Linked DNA regions of Homo sapiens: all the other regions are linked to region 2. The links are contacts of gene promoters, found by promoter capture Hi-C in human tissues and cell types (Jung and others, 2019). All regions are on one chromosome and are shown on one strand. Each heading gives the region's core, a stretch centred on a gene start or on the middle of the fragment in contact. The rest is flanking DNA. Distances are from core to core; before and after follow the strand shown. Region 1 overlaps NDE1 (nudE neurodevelopment protein 1). Region 2 holds the start of PDXDC1 (pyridoxal dependent decarboxylase domain containing 1). Region 3 overlaps MPV17L-BMERB1 (MPV17L-BMERB1 readthrough).

The links. The method cuts DNA at HindIII sites, captures the fragments that hold promoters and counts their contacts. A contact is called where the count stands out against the background at its distance.
Region 1: a fragment that was not itself captured here is called in contact with the fragment with the promoter of PDXDC1 in region 2 in 2 of the 25 tissues and cell types used here (liver and spleen).
Region 3: a fragment that was not itself captured here is called in contact with the fragment with the promoter of PDXDC1 in region 2 in 1 of the 25 tissues and cell types used here (dorsolateral prefrontal cortex).

The regions. Positions count from the first base shown.
Region 1 is chr16:15,658,330-15,662,688 of GRCh38, forward strand. All of the region lies in intron 1 of NDE1 (nudE neurodevelopment protein 1), which reads left to right. Among named protein-coding and RNA genes, the nearest start is that of NDE1, 10 kb to the left of the region's middle. The HindIII fragment of the contact is 8,992 bases long and covers 1-4,359 here.
Region 2 is chr16:14,972,558-14,976,974 of GRCh38, forward strand. PDXDC1 (pyridoxal dependent decarboxylase domain containing 1) reads left to right here and starts at 2,469. Exons shown (of 23, transcript NM_015027.4): 1 at 2,469-2,663. The coding sequence starts at 2,643. RefSeq lists a silencer at 1,335-1,629 and an enhancer at 1,787-2,550. The HindIII fragment of the contact is 18,558 bases long and covers 1-4,417 here.
Region 3 is chr16:15,554,884-15,559,346 of GRCh38, forward strand. All of the region lies in intron 2 of MPV17L-BMERB1 (MPV17L-BMERB1 readthrough), which reads left to right. All of the region lies in intron 2 of BMERB1 (bMERB domain containing 1), which reads left to right. Among named protein-coding and RNA genes, the nearest start is that of MIR6506, 54 kb to the right of the region's middle. The HindIII fragment of the contact is 5,471 bases long and covers 1-4,196 here.

The DNA of each region.
Region 1 (4,359 bases), core at 835-3,334, 690 kb after region 2:
CTCAGCATGGGTTAGATCCGTGACTGTCACTGGCTGAGCATGGGGGTTAGGCTCACCCTATCATTGGCTCTGCGTGAATTAGGCCCACCTCTGTCACTGGCTCATCGTGGGTTAGGCCCACCCATGAGCTGATCACTAAGGTCGTGAATAGGCATATGCCTCTTCCCAGGTGTGGAGGATGATGTCAGATCCCTCTGAACTCATGAAATGAGTAGGGTATTCTCCCAAGGGAATATTGTGCTGTCACAGAAGATGGAAAAATGAATGCATGTCTGGAAAAAACAAGCAAAACTACAAATCATTAGCTTTATATGACATTTATTTATTTTTTGTTTATATGTTTTTGAAATGGAGTCTTGCTCTGTTGCCCAGGCTGGAGTGCAGTGGTGTGATCGTGGTTCACTGCAACCTCTGGCTCCCGGGTTCAAGCGATTCTCATGCCTTAGCCTCCCGAGTAGTTGGGATCATAGGTGCCTGCCACCACACCCAGCTAATTTTTGTGCTTTTAGTGTAGACAGGATTTTACCATGTTGGCCAAGCTTGTCTTGAACTCTTGACCTCAAGTCATCTGCCTGCCTCAGCTTCCCAAAGTGTTGAGATTACAGGCATGAGCCACCACGTCTGGCCAGCTTTGTATGACATTTCGCCTTTCTGCCTTGATCAAACTTTCAGAGAATCTGCTTTCCAGAGGGATGAGTGGGTCGGGAAATAGCATGTTTTCTCTGAATGAGGGAAAGGATTGAAAAAGTAGGAGGGAGAAAGGATGTGAATATGAGTCCCAACAAATGCAGAGTTATCGGTAAGTTTTGTGCTTGAATCTAGGTACAATTGTGCATTTCCTGGTTCTGCATGAATTAGGCCCACCTCTGTCATTGGCTCAACATGGGTGAGGCTCACTAACTTCCACCAGAAGTTAGTGGTGGTGTCTGTGTTGACACTTACATGTTTAGCCTAATGATTTCATGTTTTAACCAAAACTATATAGCTTGTTGGTTATATCTTAGAAAGTGATGGTTTTTGCTCATTCTTTTGTCCCCAGGGATACACACCAGCCTCTAAGTTCTCTTGAGGGAAGGAAGGGACCTTGCACACAATCTTTTTTTTTTTTTTTTTTTTTTTTTTTTTGAGAGGAAGTCTCACTCTGTCACCCAGGCTGGAGTGCAGTGGTGCGATCTCGGCTCACTACAACCTCTGCCTTCTGGGTTCAAGTGATTCTCCCGCCTCAGCCTCCCGAGTAGTGGGGATTACAGGCGCACACCACCATGCCCGGCTAATTTTTATATTTTTAGTAGAGATGGGGTTTCAGTGTGTTGGCCAGGCTGGTTTCAGACTCCTGAGCTCAGGTGATTCACCTGCCCTGGCCTCCCAAAGTACTGGGATTACAGGTGTGAGCCACTGCGCCCGGCCTTGGACACAATCTTTTTTTTTTTTTTTTTTGAGACGGAGTCTCGCTCTGTCACTCAGGCTGGAGTGCAGTGGCACGATCTCAGCTCATTGCAACCTCCACCTCCTGGGTTCAAGCAATTCTCCTGCCTTAGCCGCCTGAGTAGCTGGGACTACAGGTACCTGCCACTGCGCCCGCCTAATTTTTGTATTTTTAGTAGAGATGGGGTTTCACCATATTGGCCAGGCTGGTCTCAAACTCCTGACCTTGTGATCTGCCCGCCTCGGCCTCCCAAAGTGCTGGGATTACAGATGCGAGCCACTGAGTCTGGCCTGGACACAATCTTACTTGGATTCCTCATGCCCTTTTGACAAGCTCAGAGCCTCAAATAAATTCAGAAAATAGGTGATTACATCAAACAGCCTCTATCAACAGGGAGTATACAAACCGTTAGCCCAACTGTTAATAGAAGTCTGCTTTCTTGCTGGGTGTGGTGGCTCACACCTAGAATCCTAGTGCTTTGGGAGTACAAGGCAGGAGGATCGCTTGAGCCCAGGAATTTGAGACCAGCCTAGGCAACATAGTAAGACCCCATCTCTTAAAAAAAAAATTAGCTTGGCGTAGTGGCCTATACCTGTAGTCCCAGCTAGTCAGGAGGCTGAGGCAGGAGGATCAGTGCCGCCTAGGAGTTCAAAGATGCAGTGAGCTATGATTGTGTCACTGCACTCCAGCTGGGTTGACAGATTGAGACCCTATCTCTTAAAAAAAAAATTGCTTCCCTCACCTCTGCTGTGAAACAGCTCAAAGTCCTGAGAGCCAAGGCCCCTACCGCCCACATCCTCTAGCTGTTGGCTAATTTATTTCATCGTCTTTTAGGTAATTCTCCAGAATTCCATCGCTTTCCTCTTTTTCACCTCCCAGTTACTCCTGCACTCAGTTCTTCGTCTTTCCTCCTCCACTGTGTAGAAACTGTTCTTGCTCACACCGCCAGTGACCGACTTTCGCTCAGCCTTGTGGATATTTTCCAGCCCTTATCTTCCCTGCTTCTCTGTTGCATCCTTGTGACACTGGAATGTTTCCCTTTTTTCCCTTGAAACCGCCCACTCCCAGGACAGCACAGTCTTCCTGATTCTCATCTCTCTCACTCTGTTTCTTCTCTGCCTCCTTCGGTTACCATTTCTTAAACTGCCCACCTTTCCAATATTGGCATTCTTCACTGTTCCATACACAGTCCCTAGGCGATTCTTCCATGGTCACGAGGAAAAGAGAAAAACCAGCTATAGACGCATGACTTTCAAATGGATATTGTTGACCCAATTTCAACCCTGAGTTTCAGCTGCGATATTGCATCTTGGTGTGTCATGGACATGTCAAGCTGTGAATGTCTGAGACTGGGTTTGTTATCTCTCCTTAACCCACCCACCTACCCAAGAGTTTTACTTGTTTTTTTTTTTTTTTTGAGTCTCGCTCTGTCACCCAGGCTGGAGTGCAGTGGCGCCATCTCGGCTCACTGCAAGCTCCGCCTCCCGGGTTCAAGCCATTCTCCTGCCTCAGCCTCCTGACTAGCTGGGACTACAGGCACCCGCTGCCAGGCCTGGATAATTTTTTGTATTTTTAATAGAGACAGTGTTTCACCATGTTAGCCAGAATGGTCTTGATCTCCTAACCTCGTGATCCACCTGCCTCGGCCTCCCAAAGTGCTGGGATTACAGGTGTGAGCCACCGCGCCCGGCCGAGTTTTCCTTTTGATTGTCCTTTTTTTTTGAGACGGGATCTTGCTGTGTTGCCCAGGCTGGAGTACAGTGGCATGGTCATGGGTCACTGCAGCCTCGACCTCTCCTTGCCCCTCATCCTCTCGAGTAGCTGGAACTACAGACACACCACCATGACCAGCTAGTTTTTGTATTTTTTGTAGAGATAGGGTCTCACCAGGTTGCCCAGGCTGGTCTGGAACTCCTGGGCTCAAGCATTCCACCTGCTTTGGCCTACCAATGTGCTGGGATTACAGGTGCGAGGCACTGCACCCAGCCACCTTCTGGAAGTCTTTATCTCTGGTGATGGGGATGGTGGCGGCACCCAATTGCCTAAGGTAGAGCCCCAGAAGATGTCCTCACCTCCTTTTTCTCTCTCCCCTGCCCCGAAAAGTCATAATTCATCAAGTTCTGGTAAGTTTGCCTTCTAAATATTTTTGGAGTCCATTTCTGTTCCCTCCATCTTCATTCCTACTTTCTTTTTTTTTAGACAAGGTCTCACTCTCTTGCCCAGGCTGGAGTGCAGTACCGTGATCATAGCTTACTGCAGCCTCAAATTCCTGGACTCATGTGATCCTCCTTCCTCAGCCTCCAGAGTAGCTAGGACTACAGATGTGTTGCACCACACCAGTCTAATTTTTTAAAAAGTTTTTTTGTCAAGGTAGGGTCTTGCTGTGTTTCCCAGGCTGGTCTTGAACTCCTGGTCCCAAGTGGTCCTCTTGCCTTGGCCTCCCATAGTGCTGGGATTATACGTGTGAGCCACTGTACCTGGCCTATTCTCACTTTCTAATTCAGGCCACGTTCCTTTCTCTTTTCTTTTTTTTTTTTTTTTTTTTGAGATGGAGTCTTGATCTGTCGCCCAGGCTTGAGTGCAGTGGCGTGATCTCGGCTCACTGCAAGCTCTGCTTCCCAGGTTCACGCTATTCTCCTGCCTCAGCCTCCCGAGTAGCTGGGACTACAGGCACCTGCCACCACGCCCAGCTAATTTTTTTGTATTTTTAGTAGGGACAGGGTTTCACCGTGTTAGACAGGATGGTCTCAATCTCCTGACCTCATGATCCGCCTGCCTCGGCCTCCCAAAGTGCTGGGATTACAGGCATGAGCCACCGTGCCTGGTCTCTTTTCTTTTTTAAATAGGATCTCACTTCATCACCCAGGCTTTAGTGCAGTGGCACTATCTTGGCTCACCGCAACCTCTGCCTCCTGTGCTCAGGTGATCCTCCC
Region 2 (4,417 bases), core at 1,219-3,718:
CATGTTGGCCACGCTGTTCTCCAACTCCTGACCTCAGGTGATCCGCCCACCTCGGCCTCTCAAAGTGCTGGGATTACAGGCATGAGCCACCGCGCCCAGCCTTTTTTAAATTTTTAAATTTTTTATTATATTTTGTTTTTGAGACAGAGTCTCGCTTTGTCGCCCAGGCTGGAGTGCAGTGGTGCGATCTCTGCTCACTGCAAGCTCCGCCTCCCGGGTTCACGCCATTCTCCTGCCTCAGCCTCCAGAATAGCTGGGACTACAGGCGCCCGCCACCATGCCCGGCTAATTTCTTTTTGTATTTTTGGTAGACACGGGGTTTCACCGTGTTAGCCAGGATGGTCTCGATCTCCTGACCTCGTGATCCGCCCGCCTCGGCCTCCCAAAGTGCTGGGATTACAGGCGTGAGCCACCGCGCCCGGCCCAGCCTCTTATTTGTATTTTTATTGTTTTTTGAGATGGAGTCTCGTCTTATTGCCCAGGCTGGAGCGCAGTGGCACAATCTCGGCTCACTGCAACCTCTGCCCCCGGGGTTCAAGTGATTCCCCTGCCTCAGCCTCCCAGGTAGCTGGGATTACAGGTGTTTGCCACCACGCCCAGCTAATTTTTTGTATTTTTAGTAGAGACGGAGTTTCACTCTGTTGGCCAGGCTGCTCTTGAACCAGCCTCTTATTCTTTTACATACTATTTCCAGCACAACTGTCCAAGATGGCAGTCAATAAATGTTTGGCTAAATATAATAAATAATACGGTTGATTATTTCCACTTTTTCATGTTGGGTTTTCAAAGTCTACTTTTAAAACAGTAAAGTTAACTTTTCTCTCTAGTATTTGTTTTGTAGAATCTATTATACTTTGTAATGTAATCCACAGAAACTTGGAGGTGACTTTAGTAAAATTTACTAGTTTTGAATGATACCCATGCTGAGGTGCTCAGAGGTGAAATGTACTAACATATATCGATGGATGGATATATGGATGCATATGTGATTAAAGCAAATATAGGGAAAATTAACTGTAGAATCTAGGTAGTGGGTATATGGTTGTTCACTGTACAACTGTTTAAACTTTTCTACGTTTGAAAAATTTCATAACACGTTGGAAAAGTGACTTGTTTTGCTCAAGCAGGGGTACATTCAATCTTCAATTCTTGAAAGACATAAATCTATCTTTCCTTCTGTTTGGAAAGCTCTTTAGAGAGTCAGAATAATCCCCACAGTACAGTCTAAACCAGCACACAAGGGTTTTTTGGTAGAAAATAATTTTATTAACATAACCAGGCAATTTACCAAATACAACGTAGATAGCTCAAAACATGGAGTTACTGCGCTGAAAATGTGACCCTGTTTACACAGATTTCGGGACGAAGAGTATAAAACAGGAGAGAAAAGGAGTAAGATTGTGGTTGTAGCGTCATCGCAGAGGTGAAGTGTTCCATTGATTGCCACTGTGGTAGTCTATATCAGTTTCCCACATTAAGGTGGGAGGAATCTACTAAGCAAATGTACGCCCTCCCCATTCGTTCGAAACACATTGCAGTAAAATTGCAAAAGTGGCCGGGCGTGGTAGCTCATGCCTGTAATCCCAGCACTTGGGGAAGCTGAGACGGGAAGATCGCCTGAGGCCAGGAGTTTGAAGCCAGCTTGGGTAACATAGTGAGACACCCCTACCTTCTCTATTAAAATGAGATTTTAATTTTTTTTCTCTTCAGTTCATCGGTTAACAAGATAAAAAAATTAATAAAAAATTAACTTTTTAAAACATTTAAAGTAAAGTAGGAGTGGAAGCAGTATGTGGACTCATGGGGCTTGGGTCTGAATCCTACCTAGATCGGCACTGCGAAATGGGGATAATGATCTCCTAGAGCTGCTGAAATAGGAAAATGGAAGAACAGCAGCTGATGTATTAATATTATCATTATTACTACTACCCATTACCTGACAAGTGATAATTGTGACATGAAAGAGGCTGGACCGGTTGTTACAACAATTTTTTCCGTCTAGAATTCGGCGGTAAGGTCTGAGACAACACCTCAGCTTAGATCAGTGCCTTCTCTGAACAGCGTTCACTAAGCAGCCCCCAACCCCAAAACCCCCAAGTCCCCGGGCGCCGAGGACGCTGCGAGTCCTGCGCATGCGCAAGGTTGCCCACTCGCTCACCGCCTCCTTGGCGAATGGCCTGTTCCATTCTCGAGGGATGCCGGCGGGAGGTGAGGCGGGAGACTTGGAAGCCTGGGCCCGGAAGTGAGGTGCGTCACTAGTATTTCCAGCCTTTCACTCCATGAATAGTACTTTGTGATTATTATACTTCTACCTTGATGATTGCAACAGGCTGCTGGAAAGAGTTTGGTGAACAATCCACCGGGCATCCTCCCCCCTTCACCTGCGCACGTTAGGGAGGGCCGGCGTGGCGCCCAGGTACGGAATCCCAGAGGGCTCCGCCCAGCGCTACGGGGCCCCGCCCCGCCGCCTCTCAACCATCAGGTTCGGCAGCCCGCGGCGCCGCCTGGCAGCTCCTCCTCTTCTCCGCCCCGCCGGCCGCGGGCGCGGGGGACGTCAGCGCTGCCAGCGTGGAAGGAGCTGCGGGGCGCGGGAGGAGGAAGTAGAGCCCGGGACCGCCAGGCCACCACCGGCCGCCTCAGCCATGGACGCGTCCCTGGAGAAGGTCCGTGCCGGGAGGGGGCGATGGGGACGGTGCTGCGGCCCGGGGCTCCCGCTTCCGAGGCAACTGTTTCCCAGTCGCGAGCTGCCATTGTGACCCGGACAGGGGGACGCGGGCTGACAGGCCCTGCCTGAGGAGGCCTCGCCGGGAGGGCGGCTGGGGCCCGGGCGCGTCACGGGGCCGGGTGTCTCTTGGGTCCCCGTGGGCCGAAGAGGCTGGGCGGGGTTCGGTGGGGGCCGCGACGGGCCCGGAGCCCAGGACTGGGACCGCGGGGCCGACCTTGGGCCCTGCCGAGGTTCCGCGAGTGGCCGGCCTGAGCTCGGCTGGCCCTTTCGGAGGACCGGGAGCTCTCCGTTGGCGGCCCCAGATGCTCCCGGAAAGAAGCCGCAGTTATTTCAGAGCCAGCTGCAAACCTGTAGGTTTTTCTTGGTCTCCGAGTTAGGAATGAAAATTGCCAAAGCAGTGGTTTTCCAACTTCAGCCTGAGTGGGAATCACCTGGGGCCTTTGGTAAAATGCGGAGGTTCAGTCCCGGGGTCAGAACCTCTGGGGGCGGGACCGGGAACTGCGTGTTTAACCGCCACCGCCCCGCTCCCACTCCGCCCCACGCAGGTGATTCTGATGCTGAGCCTGCGATCACCGGGCGAGAACCTCTGAGTTCCAGAAAGGGGTGGGTGTTGCGTAGATTGCGAATTGAGTTTTGGGGATCGCAGCTGCTCCACAACTTCCTGGCTCCCCCATTCCAGTGGCGAGGAGGGATCCCCGAGTCAACTCGAAATCCACTGGTAACAGAGCCTACCTCTGGTTTCCCCTTGGGGGAACGGCAGCGTGGTGTACCAGGCTGACTGCTCTACCATGTGAAACGGATTCTCATTGTCCCAGTGTTAGGGCTTGTAAATGGAAACCAGTTTGGGTTTCTTCACGGATTCCTGCTTTCGGTACCTGACATTCTGCCCTCCCTCAAAGCCCTTCTGTCTGTTCCAGCTTGGGAGTCTGCTTGTCCAATCCAGTGCATACCCGGTTTTTCATGCATGTGGCATTCAGGAGCAATGCTCGTGTTTTAAGACGGCTACATTTTAATTTTGAGCTGGTAGGAATAATATATTTTGTCTTTTTTCAAGGCAGCAGCTGCTGTAGATTTTGTTCACTTGTCACTGGAGAGTTGAAGGCAATAATTGTAAAGGTTGGGCCAGATGTCTTCATGTGCTCACAGTGGTATAGCCTACTCCTGGGTTGCTTAGCATAAATTGGGTGGAAGACAAGAAAAAGATAATATGGTTTTCTTGTGCCATCTCTGGGGTGAATGTTACGTGTTTTCCTGGCTGGGAATAAAGTCTTTCCGGTCGTCTGATTAGCAGGGTGTCTACCTTTTGGTACTTTGAGTTTGTCCAGATGAGTGGTTCTTAAAGCAGGGGGCAATTTATTTCCCCAGGAGACATTTGGCTATCTCTGGACATAGTTTTGATTGTCACAATGGGGGCAGGGAGGTGCTGCCGGTACCTAGTGGGTAGAGGCCAGGGACGCCTCTAAACATCCTACGTTGCACAGGACAGCCCCCCACGCTGGAGAATTCTCTGGCCCAAAATGTCAGCAGTGTTGAGGCTGAGAAATCCTGGTCAAGATCATGTTTATAACACCAGCAGTTGAGTACAAAACGATGCAAAGTGGTGTTATCAATTTCCTAAGAAGGTGGGTGGGCTTCATGTGATTGTAATTGGAATCCTGAAGAACTGGGGTGATCTTTCCTCCAGGAATAATT
Region 3 (4,463 bases), core at 211-2,710, 580 kb after region 2:
TCTCGATCTCCTGACCTTGTGATCCGCCCGCCTCGGCCTCCCAAAGTGCTGGGATTACAGACTTGAGCCACCGTGCCCGGCCAGGAGCAAGTATTCTTTTAGGTCTAAAACAAAGGTAACTAAGCAATACTGGTGTTTGTTTGTTTTGAGACAGGGTCTCACTCTGTCAAGGCAGACAGCTGGAAACCCACGTCAAGAAAATTGACTATTTTCAAAAGTCAATCCTTGCCTCCCAGGTTGGAGTACAGTGGTGTGATCATGGCTCACCCAGGAGCTCAACCTCCTGGGCTGAAGTGATCCTCCTACCTCAGCCTCTCTGGTAGCTGGAACCACAGGTACACACCACCAGGCATAGCTAATTTTTTTATTGTGTAGAGACAGAGTCTCGCTATGTTGCCTAGGCTAATCTCGAACTCCTGGACTCTATCGATCCTCCCATCTCAGCCTCAAAGTACTGGGATTACAGGCATGAGCCACTGTGCCTGGCCATAATTTTTTTATATCATACATACAGAAAAGAGCAGTATTAGTAGTTGTTATTGTAAGAAAAATGAAAACTAAGGCAGTCTAGAAAGCCCTTGGAAGAGAGAAGAATAAACTGCGCTTGAGGAAGTTGACATTTGGGAACAGAGTGGGAACAAGGGTCTTGAAGAAGGTGACATTTGTTTGGGAACGAGTGTCTGACTGCAATCAAAGGAAAGGCCAGTGTGACAGGTGGATGTAAATCCACAGTCCATTAAAATGGCCACAGAGAGAAAACAGACATATTGGCCTTCCAGGGTGCAACATGAGGGCATTCCCTTCCTATGTACACTGGCAGGCACCTCTCCGGTCCCTTGGTCCCCAGCAAGATGCTGAGAAATTGCTGAGGCCAGGGGCTCCCTGGACACTTATCAACACTTATCCTTACCCAGGGATAGCGTTTAAGCTCATGAATCCTACGAAAGCTGAACCAATGCACATGTTTATCATCTTGGAACCATTTGATTTGAGGAAATTGTAATAGCACATGCTGGCCAGGCGCGGTGGCTCATGCCTGTAATCCCAGCACTTTGGGAAGCTGAGGCGGGTGGATCACCTGAGGTCAGGAGTTCGAGACCAGCCTGGCCAACATAGTGAAATCCCCTCTCTACCAAAATACAAAAATTTGCTGGGCATGGTGGCAAGTGCCTGTTATCTCAGCTACTTGGGAGGCTGAGGCAGGAGAATCGCCTGAACCTGGGAGGTGAGGTTGCAGTGAGCCAAGATCCCGCCATTGCACTACAGCCTGGACGACAAGAGCGAAACTCCATCTCAAAAAAAAAAAAAATAGCATGTGATAGTGAGATACACATTTTGCACAGAAATGTTGGCTGAGATAGTCCAGGAGAGTCTCTGTGAGCTGACTTTTTACCTAGGGTGGAGGAGTGGATGGAAGTGGCTGTTCCTACACACCCACACTGCCTGTGCAAAACCGTGGGCTGCCTGCACCACACACACAAGCCTGTTTGATTCTCATACAACCCCAAGACAAAGGTGTAATCCCTTTTCAACAGTGACAGCACTGAGGCTGAGAGCAGCAAAGTAGGTCATAGCCAGTCAATGGGGGTACTGAGATCTGCATTGAGATCTGGCTGTGTCTAAAGCGGGTTGTATCCTCTCTGTGCTTGCAGAATGGGGCTCGAGGGCTCATCTAAACCCCTCATCTTATTTATTTATTTTTATTTATTTATTTATTTATTGAGACGGAGTCTCGCTCTGTTGCCAGGCTGGAGTGCAGTGGTGCAATCTCGGCTCACTGCAACCTCCACCTCCCAGGTTCAAGTGATTCTCCTGCCTCAGCCTCCTGAGTAGCTAGGACTACAAGCACGTGCCACCACGCCCAGCTAATTTTTGTATTTTTAGTAGAGACAGGGTTTCACCATGTTGGCCAGGCTGGTCTCGATTTCTTGACCTCGTGATCCGCCCTCCTCGGCCTCCCAAAGTGCTGGGATTACAGGCGTGAGCCACCGCGCCCGGCCCAGACATGACATCTTTTTCTCACCTGTCTTAAGATACCTGCAGCCTCTGTAACTTATTTTTAAAAGGAGACAATAAAGACTATTTTTAAAAGTCAATCCTTGCCTCTGAAAACCTACCTCTGCCTTTGTCGTGGTCTCTGCTGGGTTTCCATTAGGCTGCAACTCAAGCTGCTGATGCCTCCATTTCATGTCGTTTTCACAAACATTTTGTAAAGCAGCAGCTCTATTATTCCAGCAGGGCCTGATCACCTCTCCGCACCCAACGCTGATAAAAATGACCCGCTTTCCCCTATCGTCCCAGCGTGAAAGACCAAGATGCTGAATGACACGGGTTGGCTTTCTTTTCCTTCCGAACATTAATCAGGTTCTTGAAGATAACATCTCTCTCTGGAACGAGCCGGCAGCAGCAGAGTTTGATTTCCAGGTTCAGCCCTAATGGTACAGAGACCTGGACTAATGTGGCTTATTCAAAGTTCCAGCCATGCTTCTAAAGCATGGCTTATTCGAACTTCCAGCTATGCTTTTAAAGCACTTTGCATGAACTATTCACATGTCTTTTGAACAATATGATTTAATGGCATTGGAAAATCATCATGATGTCATGCTTGCAATGAGCAGGACAGCTGTATGTCTTGATCCAATACACATTAAAAATGCACCTATCCACACATATGTATCTGTGAAAATGTCTTCAGCTGCAAGTAACACAGCGTCCGACGACTAGTGTCTTAAATCTTGGGTGACCAGCTGTCTCTGTTTGCCTGGGACTGAGAGGTTTCCAAGGATCTGGAAACTGCAGTGCAGAAACTGGGACAGCCCCAGGCAAACCAAGTCAGTTGTTCACACTACTTAAGTCATAAGGACATTTAATATTTACTTGAGGCTGGACACAGTGGCTCACACCTGTAATCCCAACACTTTCGGAGGCTGAGGCAGGTGGATCACGAGGTAAGGAGTTCAAGACCAGCCTGGCCAAGATGGTGAAACTCCATCTCTCCTAAAAATACAAAAATTAGCCAGGCTTGGTGGTGGATGCCTGTAATCCCAGCTACTCGGGAAGCTGAGGCAGAGAATGGCTTCAACCTGTGAGGCGGAGGTTGCAGTGAGCCGAGATCATGCCACTGCACTCCAGCCTGGGCAACAGAGCTAGACTCCGTCTCAAAAAAAAAAATTTTTTTTGACTTGATAAGCAGTCCAGATGCAGGTGGCCCGAGGGTCAGTGGGGTGGCCCCAGGATGCTATCAAGGGTCTGGCTGTTTCCTTTCCTCCCCTCTGCCCTAGATAGCGAACCTGTCCCCTTCTGCCCATGGGTAGTAAGCCAATCGCTGTTATGATGGATTTGGCAAAAGAAAAGAATTTATTCACACCAACGCAGCCAAGCAAGGAGGCAGGAGAAAAGGTCTCATACTTGCCTCCCTGAAGATGGAATTTAGGGATCTTTATGGAATAAAGGAGCAGGGTGGTCTAAAGTGTGGGAAGAGGTGATTGGAGGCAAGGAAAAGTGAGGTCATTGGCAATCTGCACATACATAGCCAAGCTTCCTGGATCTTCATAGGGTGCATGTTTAGAAAATGGCAGCATTAGCATGATCTCGGGGAGTTTTGGGCCCTCTGACGTCAAAAGGTCACTTCTCCGGCATTTGCACAGGTTCAGTTGAAGGGTCATTGATCTCAACGGGTTCGAACTGGACAGGAGCTGCCCCCATAGTCCTGAAAAACAACTTTAAGCAACCATTACCGTAGTCACATATGTGTCGTAGCGACATATATGTGACATATGACATATATGTACCATAATGACATATAGTGACATATGTAAGGAAGCCGGTGGGGGGGTTAGGTATATATCATTTGGCTGCTTGACTTTTAGCTATATAAGTTTTAAGACCAGCTAGAAGTAAGTGGTTAAAAGCAAGCAAGGCAAGTTAAGTTTGGTGGGCTTCATCAGGTTAGCGTTCGGTTTCGCCATTCTCACGTGAGTGGCTGTAGGAGCTTAGGACCAGGACAGGGGAGAACCGAAGGCCCTAATTATCCTTCCCAGAAGCCTGCCCAAGCGGAGTTTCTCTTAAGGGCTTTCTCTAAGCCCACCAAACTTAACTTGCCTTGCTTGCTTTTAACCACTTACTTCTAGCTGATCTTAAAACTTATATAGCTAAAAGTCAAGCAGCCAAATGATATTTAACTAAACCCTCCACTGGCTTCCTTATATATGTCACTATATGTCATTATGTTACATATATGTCATATGTCACCTATATGGCACTATGACACATACGTGACTATGGTAATGGTTGCTTAAAGTTGTTCTCTTACATTTCATTGGCCCAGAGTAGATGTCATAGCTACCTCCACTTGCAAGAGAGCCTGGAAAAGTATGTGTCTAGCCAAAGCAAATGGGATTCTGTGACTGGCTTCCATCAAGGCAGGGCAGGTTGCCTCCTGGACAAATCAGAGCTCTGGGAGA